2 separate regions of the Homo sapiens genome follow, and region 2 is linked to region 1. Evidence: promoter capture Hi-C in 16 types of primary human blood cells and fetal thymus (Javierre and others, 2016). All regions are on one chromosome and are shown on one strand. The core of a region is centred on a gene start or on the middle of the fragment in contact, and the rest is flanking DNA. Distances in the headings are between cores, read along the strand shown.

What was found. The method cuts DNA at HindIII sites, captures the fragments that hold promoters and counts their contacts. A CHiCAGO score of 5 or more calls a contact.
Region 2: a contact is called between a fragment that was not itself captured here and the fragment with the promoter of OR10W1 in region 1, in 1 of 17 cell types (endothelial precursors). The highest score is 5.8, in endothelial precursors.

The regions. Positions count from the first base shown.
Region 1 is chr11:58,265,414-58,270,651 of GRCh38, forward strand. OR10W1 (olfactory receptor family 10 subfamily W member 1) reads right to left here and starts at 2,847. Exons shown (of 1, transcript NM_207374.3): 1 at 1,379-2,847. The coding sequence starts at 2,445. The coding sequence ends at 1,528. The HindIII fragment of the contact is 7,272 bases long and covers 1,144-5,238 here.
Region 2 is chr11:58,503,270-58,508,507 of GRCh38, forward strand. It overlaps LOC105369313 (a long non-coding RNA gene), which reads right to left. Exons shown (of 5, transcript XR_007062673.1): 3 at 2,200-2,273. It overlaps OR5B21 (olfactory receptor family 5 subfamily B member 21), which reads right to left and starts at 4,836. Exons shown (of 1, transcript NM_001005218.3): 1 at 3,538-4,836. The coding sequence starts at 4,836. The coding sequence ends at 3,907. The HindIII fragment of the contact is 3,170 bases long and covers 523-3,692 here.

The DNA of each region.
Region 1 (5,238 bases), core at 1,597-4,096:
CCCAGGTGGGATAGAGCAGGATGGCTTGGAATTTCAACACTTTACTCCGGACAGGACACAATTTAAAACTTACAAATTGCTCATTTCTGGAATTTTCTATTTAATATTTTTATATTGCATTGACCGCGGGTAACTGCAACTGTGGAAAGTAAACCTGCAGGTAAGTGGAACCTACTATATTGGTTTCACTGTCAGGGTCTGTTTTCTGAGAACTCTCCCATTTATATAAAAAACAGAGATAATAGTCTTAATGAGCTTTTTGAAGATTGATAGAATATGTATTTCTGGCACACAGGAAGCACTTAATATTATCTATTACTAATAACTAGTATTTGAAAATATAAATTTGAGGCTGAATAATATCTTTTTACATAGTAATTGTTTAACCAATACTTTATTATAGGAGAAGTGGATTAATTTCTTTCTTTTCTTTTCTTTTCTTTTCTTTTCTTTTTTTTTTTGAGACCGAGGGAGTCTCGCTCTGTCCCCTAGGCTGGAGTGCAATGACGCAATCTCAGCTCACGGCAACCTCCGCCTCCTGGATTCAAGCGGTTCTCCTGCCTCAGCCCCTCAAGTAGCTGGGATTACAGGCACACGCCACCATGCCAGGCTAATTTTTGTACTTTTAGTAGAGATGGGGTTTCACCATGTTGGCCAGGCTGGTCTCAAACTCTTAACTTCATGATCTGCCCACCTCAGCCTCCCAAAGTCCTGGGATTATAGGCATGAGCCACCGCAACTGGCCTATTTTCATTTTTATGTATGATGCTATAATAAACAACAAATTTGTTCTGATTGTTCTCTGTTTGACCCTGGTTCTCTAGGTTTTTGTCTGCCTTTCCCTGTGCCCTAGGAGACTGACTTCTGTGGACTGATTCACCCAGTCTCCCCTCCCTTCTTGCTGCCAGTTGAGTTTGGTCCATGGAGACAGGGCAAGAAATGGAAGATTTTGAGCAAAGAGACGCTGGGGTATTTGCCTCCCTGTCTCTTCCTTGCATGGCCATAGTTCTGTCATAGTTTCTTTTTATTTCTGATGCCACAGTTTCTACCAAGTGGTTTATCTGCTTAGATCTAACTGTCACTGGACTCTGATAATGTTGCACCCTTCTTCTATGGCACACCTTTTAAGTCTAGGGCTGAGAAAGCTTCCTGCTATTGCTAGCGTGTTAGTGCTCTGCCACATTTTATTGGTTTCCTTACCTATAACCACTGCAGATAACCCTTTTTAAATATTTTTTTAGTTAAAAATCTATTGAGTGAGCTATCTCTTCTCAGCTGGTAACTGGACAAAGTATTATACTTGCCACTTTATATCACTTTATGCTCATGTAGTTCTTTCCAAGAAGAGAAATTACAGAGTCAAATTGTAGAAATATTTAAAAATCTTTGGCACACATAAACAGTATCCATATAATTTATACCATCTTTTAGATGAGTTTTAACACCAAATGATAGAAATCTCAGTTTCATACAGATTTGGTGGGCTGGAACCAAATACTTGCCTGATAGGCTGTCCCCTCGTCTTTCCTAGCTGTTCTGGGAAAGGCAGTTCCTGGTAAGAACTCTCCCTACGGCCCCTTTCATCTCACTGTTCCTCAGGGCATAGATAAGTGGGTTGAGCAGTGGGGTTCCCAATGTGTACACCAGTGAGATGAACCGATCTTGCTTGGGGTTGTAGCTGGAGCTGGGGCACAGGTACATGAAGGCACAGCAGCCATACTGCAGCAGCACCACAGTGAGGTGGGAAGAGCAGGTGGAGAAGGCCCGGTGGCGGCCAGCAGCCGAGTGGATCTTGAGCAGAGCAGCCACTATGAAGGTGTAGGAGGTGGTGATGAGGAAGAAAGGCACAGCAATGGCTAGTATGGCTGCCACCAGCACTGACTGCTCATGAATGTGACTCTGAGCACAAACAACATGCATGACTGGTGGCACATCACAAAAGAAGTGCTCAATGCCCTGAGCCTGGCAGAATGGCAGAGAGAAGATGAAGGCCACCAGTTGTAAGGACAGGAACAGACCACTGATGACTGATGCCACAACCAAGTGGACACAAAGAGTCAATGTCATGAGGAGAGGGTACTGCAACGGGTGGCAAATGGCCACATAGCGGTCATAGGCCATGGCAGCCAAGAGGAAGCAATCAGCACTGCCCAGTGCAATGAAGAAAGCCATCTGGGTGGCACAGCCCAGGAGAGTGATGGTCTTCTCTGACTGTAGGGTGTTGGCCAGGATATGGGGCACCACCACTGCAGTGTAGCATATTTCAATCCCAGAAAGGCTGCCCAGGAAATAGTACATGGATGTGCATAGACAGGTTTCTGTGTGAATGGACACCACAATGAGAATGTTCCCAGTGATGATCAAACCATAAACCAGGCTGACCCCAAGGAAGGACAGAATATGCAGTTCTGGGCAGGAGGGATAGGCCAGGAACACAAATTCCATCAACACTGAGTGATTTTCCCAGGTAATTGAGCTAACAGTATTTCTCTGTGGAGAGCTACAAGTACAGAAGGAAGAATCAGACTGAAGATAAATTAAGTTACACTCTGAGCCATGAATCTAATGTAATCAGCACTGGAGTTAGAAACTGGAAGGATCAAGACTAGTTCTTTTTCTTTTCTCCACTTTTACCAAGTTTCTCCACATTAATATCTACACCTCAATTTCTACCTGCCAAGAGTTGGGCCAAACTATGTAAGATACTATTGAAGAAAAATGGCAGAGGAAGTGGGTGGGATTCAGGAGCTATTTTCAGAAAGAGTGGAATGAAAATTCAATTCTTTCAGCAAATTCACAAGAAAGTGTCAAGGAATTCTTGGGGCTAGAAATCATTAAGGTAAGGGAGATAAGCCATTTATTCATTCACTTATTCATTCACATATTTATTAGGTTGGTGCAAAAGTAGTTGCGGTTTTGCCATTTTGATGGCAAAAACTGCAATTACTTTTGCACCAACCTAATATTTACACTCAATATCTCCTGGGGTATTGAATAAGTGATATGTCAATGTAACTCTCAAAACTAGTGATGGGAAGTGAAGAAAGAAAAAAAATTACCCATGAAGCAAAGGGCTAACAGAGGCCTGAGTATGACAGTGTCAGGGATACGCCTCAGAAAGCAAAGCCCTGTCTACTATTGGTTTTTCTATCCTTATCTGACCAGAAGTATAAGGCTTGAAGGAAACAAGGTGTTTTATCATATGTTTCCTCCTGGCGTGGGTGGAGGTATGAGAAAATATGTGATCCCAAGATGTTGGAAATCTAAGAAGCCTTCCTGTGAATTTGGGCATGATTATGAAAGTCTAAGCCCATCTATTTTTCATATTTCTCAGAAGCTAATGTGAAATCTGGGAGAAGCCATATCTTTTCCACAAAAACCTTTTAATAAACAGACGTAATTTGCAAAGGGCATCCATTCCACTTCTTTTCCCAGACCAACTCATATTAAATAAGGTGGAAAAGACGTAATGTGTGGCCTTGTTTCAACGTGCCAAATTTTAATATTTCCTGTCATTGAATATGAGATTTGAAGAGAAATCTCTACCCAGAGGCACCACTTCCAGTAAAAATTATTCACACAAACCCACCTCAGTGTCACAAGCATGGGGAAAAATATGAGTAGGCAGCTACAAATATTAAGAGCACCTAGGGCAGAAATGGCTCTCTGCTGTTTTTCCAACAGCTAACAAGTGGTATCTATTTCAGTTGGTCTCTTTTCCTGAGCTGAACTTCAATAATGCTTTGAGTGGTTTCTAATGCCACTTAGCATATTGCACATTATACTATATCATGTGGAGGAGGGGCAGTGTATCAATGTGAAATCAGCAGTGAAGGGAAGTGATGTGGTTTGAATAATTCCAGCTCCTGGCTTCATGATGTTAGGTAATATATAATTTCTCTAAGCCTCAATTTCTGTATTTGAAAAATGGGAATAATAATTATACTTAGACAAAAGAATTGCTGTAAGTTTAAATGCAATAGTAATGTAAGATATCACAATGAACTGTCCATAGTAATGGCAACCTAATAAAAGATAATCATCATTATTATTTATAAATTCAAGGGCAGCCATTCTGCTTTATTTACATTTTGATCATCCCATATAAGCACGCCTAATGTTGTGCAAATTTTAGACACTCAATAATTATATGTCGAATGGATAATACAGCTTGAAAATGTTATTTATACATTTTCTTCATTTTCTACTTTCACTTTGCCGTGCAATGAAAGATTTAAGATTATTCATAATCAAATCACTTGTTTAGGAGTCCTTATATAAAACAACTTCGTATCTAAGATTTGGGCTGCACTGTGGAAATAATTCTATCATTCAAGAACATAGCATATGGAAGTCTACAACAGGCACACATCTAAAGGCTAGTCTACCATCTATATTATTATACAGAGACAGTTTGAAATCTGTGTCACAATGACAACTTCTGAGAATTTTATTGTAGTCTATTACATTCATATCATCTTTTCAAAAAGTTATATTTTGTTTTTAATTGACAATAATAATTGTACAATGTGATGCTTTGATACATATACACATTGTGGAATGATCAAATCAGGCTAATCAGCATATCCGTCATGTCATATAGTTATCATCTGAATACTGCTCTCTATAATATTTGTAATCTGAACACTCCACCTATAATAAAATATTTAAAATATTTACATCAGAGCTATTATAAGTCATAAATTCTAACTGCAAGAAGGGACCTCAAAAATGGCCAATTTGATCCCCAGTTATTAGATACTTGAATTTCCAATACAGTGTGTAGACACTGGGTCACCTTCAATGCCCAGGGAATCCCATTATCTCCTGGTTTGCTTGCTCTGCTGTGGAAAGACTGGATTCTCTGAAAGTCATTTCTGTAATAAACTGAAGCCTGCCTCTGTGCAACTTCTAAATGTTCCTTTGTTCTACACAATATGGCCATTTTTTTCTTTCTTTCTCTCTTTCTCTCCCTTTCTTTCTTTCTTTCTTTCTTTCTTTCTTTCTTTCTTTCTTTCTTTCTTTCTTTCTTTCTTTCTCTCTTTCTCTCTTTTTCTTTTTTTAGATGGAGTTTCACTCTTGTTGTCCAGGCTGGAGTTCAATGGCATGATTTCAGCTCACTGCAACCTCTGCCTCCTGAGTTCAAGCGATTTTCCTGCCTCAGCCTTCCAAGTAGCTGGGATTACAGGTGCCTGTTACCAGGCCCAGCTAATTTTTTGTATTTTTAGTAGAGGTGGG
Region 2 (5,238 bases), core at 858-3,357, 240 kb after region 1:
TGCTCCTGAAGCAGGAACAATATTGAATATCAACTGGTTTCTTCATCAACTTCACACCATGCCTTTTCTGCAGCTTGTGTCTAGTTAACATTGGCTGAGGCTGGGCTATCACTGTCGGCTGCGGCACTCAAAGAGCCAACTCTATCAAGACTGAAAACAAATATGCCCTGATCCATTCATGCTCTGTGGAATACTGGGAAAATTCCTGCTGGTAGTTACTGAACATTGAGTCATTAACCTTAAGGTGCATTACATCAGTAAACATATATGCAGGGGGCTTTACTTTGTGGAAGTAGGAATTACATCTTACAGTCTTATTTGTATTCTTCAGAGTGCCTTCCACATGGCAAGGACTCATTATGGAAGAGTGTAAGTGAGTTACACATTAAGTAAGACCTCCATTGAAATTTACTAACGTACTTGGTGACTTATTTTTTCAGAGTCTTGGTCAGGGAAGGCAAAAACTCAGTTTCACACCTCGGTTCCTCTTTTTAACAGTAGACAGGTAAGTTAACTTCTCAAAGCTTTGGTTTCCTCCACTGCAAAACTGAAGCACAAATAACTATATCATGGTGAATAAATGAAGGTAAAAGTATAAAATTTCTTTTTATACCACAAGTACTTTATAAAATATAAAAAAGGGTCAAACAAGATTTGGTTCTTTGTGAGTTTAAGCAAGTTAAACTGTAAAAATCGGGGTTTTTAATTGTGAAATGAGAGGATTGGTTTAGATTAGTTTTAAATTCTTTCAGCTTTTGGCTAAAGAGTCTATGACTCCGCAATTCCAGCTTCAATTGCCAAGGAATTTAATATTTTAATTTTCCACTCCCAATACATAAACCTCAACAAATGCTTTAATGCACAAAGGGAACATCCTATTTAGAATAATTCAATCATAATCCATTTTTGAAAGAATAATCTATCCTGATATAAATAACTGCCCTGATTTATGAATTTTCACATTCTTTTTTGAACATTTCAGGTAGGAAGTCCCTGTGCCTTTATTGCACTGCATTGAGCGGCAGGCCCTACGCACAAGGTCTCTCATTCATCAGACAATTCCTGCAGGGAGCAAGTGGGTGTTGTTATTAACCAAATGGGCATTTAGTCTCCATTTGACAGATTTCCTATGTGGAAGGGAAGAGCTCCTTGCAGTAACGTATACTCTGTGAATTGATGTCTTGCTGGCGACAGGACATCTCCTTCTGAGTAGTTTCTATAAATGAATACCCGTGTAATGTCAGCTTGAAATATGTCTGCTGTAGAGCTGGGAACTTGGAGGGCAGGAAGTTAAACAAGGAATGAAAATAAAAGCTAGGATTTGGATGGGACGAGCTTCACCTATCAGTCCTTGGACTTCCTATTTTTGCTCAGGCAGCTCAAGAGCCAAAATAAGAAGTCCAGGGAGAGCTAAGTGAAGAAAGAGCTAGTATAGAAATCTCAATGGTATGAAATACACATTCATTATGATGGGCACATTCACATACTTAATTTCATATTACCCTCACACTTTATCCTGTATATTGGGTTCAGTAAGACTAAATGACTTTCTTGAGGTCACACAATTGATAAGAACAGTTAGAATTTTCATCCAGCTTTTGATAGTACTCTTTTATACCTATTTACAGTCAGATAGAACACTTGTTTGAGGTGATTTCAACATAAAATATAAATATGTAGACATTGAGCCCTTAAATCTCAGGAGGCCCACATTTTCCTGCCTAAACTGAGGTATAGAGGCATAACAAAATATGTCCATAAGAATGATAAAATGGACTTTGGGGTCTCGATGGGGGAAGGTTGGGAGGGAGGTGAGGAATAAAAGACTATATATTGGGCACACTGCTCGGGTGATGGGCACATTAAAATCTCAGAAACCACCACTAAAGGACTTATCCATGTAACCAAAAACAACCTGTACCCCCAAAACTAATGAAATAAAAATTAAAACCATAAAAGAAATAAACATGCCCAGATACACATCTTAATATATACTGTAATGGTTATGATATATAGACTCTAGACTTTAATTTTTTTATAGAAATCTAAATGGCCTAGTGGTGAGGAAAGTTCCTGCTTGGGCTGGGCATAGAAAGAAGTTGGGAAAGAAAAAGAGGAGAAGGATAAAATGAAGTAAAGAAGGAGGAGCAGGATGAGGAGGGAAAAAAGTCAATTATATCAAGTAGGGAAAATGTGTACCTGAGATTGGAATGCACCCAGTGCTTGGATAGCTGCTTCCCAGGCTCTTCTCCAAATGCAGATACTCTTGAGCTCTGTAGATTTCAATGAGAAAGATTCCTATATGCAGTGGATCCTGGCCTGTAAAGGCTGTTCTTCCTGTGTGTTGCTGAATAGGCCTCATTGCTAAAGAAGAGGGGAGGGAGGGGGCTGAATGGGGGAGGTATAGGTTGTCTAGGCCTTGGGCTCAGAAGCTCCTGATCTTTTCAGGTGATGGCAACCATGTGCCAGAGAAAGCTATTCTCATGTTTCTCATGTTCCATAACTCCTTCTTTGCAATTTTTCCCAGAAGACTTATGATTTATCCTCCTCAGACAGAGGCTGCCCTGTACATAATGGAGCTTGATAATCTGAAAACTAAATTGACATTTTAAGCCAACTGAGTTAGCCAACCAAGATTTCTGGTTTTCATCTATAAGGTCAAAATTAATTTGTTGGGTTTTTTGGGGAGATTTTGAAATCATGATCTATTGTGGTGACTTAGATTAACTGTAGTTATAAACACCATCAAGGAGTTGATACGTGAGAAGTGAAATTAATCACCACTCCCTTCCCACACACACACATTTGCTCACACCATCTAGCACATGAAACAAGACCTGAAGGTGTACTAGCACTGTGCGTCACCGTGCTGTTCCTAAGAAGTAAATTTCCAGGCAGGCTTTTTTATTCTTGTAGCATCTAATTACAGAACACCGGAATGCAATGGAGACCCAGAGGTGAGCTGAATTATTGAAAAAGTAAAAGCAAAGACAGTCCAGAAAGCTATTATATATCTTCATAATAGATTCACCAAACTTAAGGGTGCTAAGAAATGCAAGCATTTAATTCAGAAAACAAATATATTTTTTCATAGCTCTAGGGAAAACTGCTTTTTTTCTCTAAACCTTCTGGAAGTTTTGGTAATTATGTTAGACAGAGACAAGAAACATAAAAGATAGTGTAGGCTCTCCGAAGGAAGTTGTATTTAGTCAGGTTAAAGTTGAAGTAATTCATCTATTAAAGCATTCCCATATTTCTGTATATAACAAGGTGTAATGTTTCCCCAATGATTTAGCAAAAGGGAATGGAAATTACAAAGGCACATGACTAGTGAGTAGGATAGGAATGTGGGTAGAGAAGGGAGAGTAAGGGGTTGGAAAGATTTAATCGTCAGCTACCTGACTCGATCTAGTGCCTTGTCCTTTAAATTACAACTTTCTCTCAAATATCATTTAAAATATTGAAACATCCTTTGTCTACCTCAGAAAGTCCAACTTTCAAACTCGCAGAACAAAAGAATAAAAAAGATACTGTGTGTTCAGTTGATAAAAATGAAGGTGAAATCTTTACACCAAGTTTAATAGTGAATGAAAAATTCTTACAATTAAAAACAGGATGAGGAAAATTTGGTACATTCATTTGTATGCTTCAATCTTCTGCTTTAAACCACGTCAAGAAACTAAAGCAAGAAAAGCTTAACTGTCCCATGTTGTTGTTCACTAAATATAAGATTATCTTTCTAAGTAAGACTTTCAACGTGCTGCTTTTTACATCTTCTAATAGCAGAAGTAACCGCTGTTCTTGGGGAAGAAAGAACTGAAACCAGTCAAACGTTAAAAGTCATGATGGCATTTAGGTGTGAGAGAAAGTTTATCCCTTAATTGCTTGCCTACTTCCCATTCACATTTAATATTGGGGGTAAAGTTTGTTGAGTATTTTCCAGAGAGCACTTTTCACTTCTTTGTTCCTAAGGCTGTATATCAAGGGATTCAGCATGGGAATCACCACTGTGTAAAACACAGAGGCTATTTTGTCTGTGTCCACGGACTGGCTGGAGTTGGGCTGTAAGTACATGAAGATGATTGTGCCATAGAAGATGGACAAAGCAGTGAGATGGGAAGCACAGGTGGAGAAGACTTTCTTCTGCCCTTCAGCAGAATGCATCCTCTGAATGGTGATGCATATGAAGAAGTAAGAAATAAGGATGACCAGGAGGGTGAAAAAGACGTTGAAGCCTGCCACAAAGACCACCAACTTGCTGATGCGTGTGTCAGAGCATGAGAGAGCCAGGAGTGGGGGAATGTCACAGAAGAAATGATTAATCTCATTAGAACCACAGAAGGAGAGTCTGAAGGTGCCTGCTGCATGGATAGAGGCATTGAGGAAGCCAGAGACATAGGAACCAGTAGCAAGGAGGGCACACACACCTGCTGTCATGGTGGTGGTGTAATGAAGAGGCCTACATACCGCTGCATGGCGATCATAGGCCATGGAGGCCAGGAGGTAGCACTCAACAGTGGCAAACCCCACAAAGAAGAAGAACTGAGCTGCACATCCATCGTAGGAGATGGCCTTGTCCCCTGACCGCAATGCAGCCACCGTTTTGGGGGCTACAGCTGATGAGTAACCCAAGTCTACAAGGGAGAGGTTACTGAGGAAAAAGTACATTGGAGTGTGGAGATGGGAGTCTGAGTGGATGATCACCATCATTCCCCCATTCCCAAGCAGGGTGATGAGGTAGATGAATAAAAATGCCAGGAGGAGGGGTATCTGAAGATTGGGGTCATCTGTTAATCCCAAGAGGATAAACTCTGTCACTTCTGTGCTATTCTCCATTGTGGCCAGCTTGAATTAGCCTGGTGATTAAAGAAGAGGCGTCAACAAAATTCCAATGAAAGTATGAGAAGGGAGGATGGAATGATAAAAAAGGAGAAAACTAATGTATAGAGAGAATGTACTGTGTGTAACACTCATCCTAGAACCCTCTGTTATATTATAGCTTTTAATTCATATGAGATAGGTGCTATTATGCCCATCTTACAGATAAGGAAGTTAAGGCTCAGGGAGCTGAATATTGAGCAAGATAGCCTATCTAGGGGTCAGAATCAAAGTTCACCCCTTTATATTTCTGAATCTAAAGTTCATACATTCATCTTGAATTCTTTAACACATTTACATCATATAAATACAAATTATGATGTGGATATAAGATTGTATGTATTTAATTATTAAAAATAA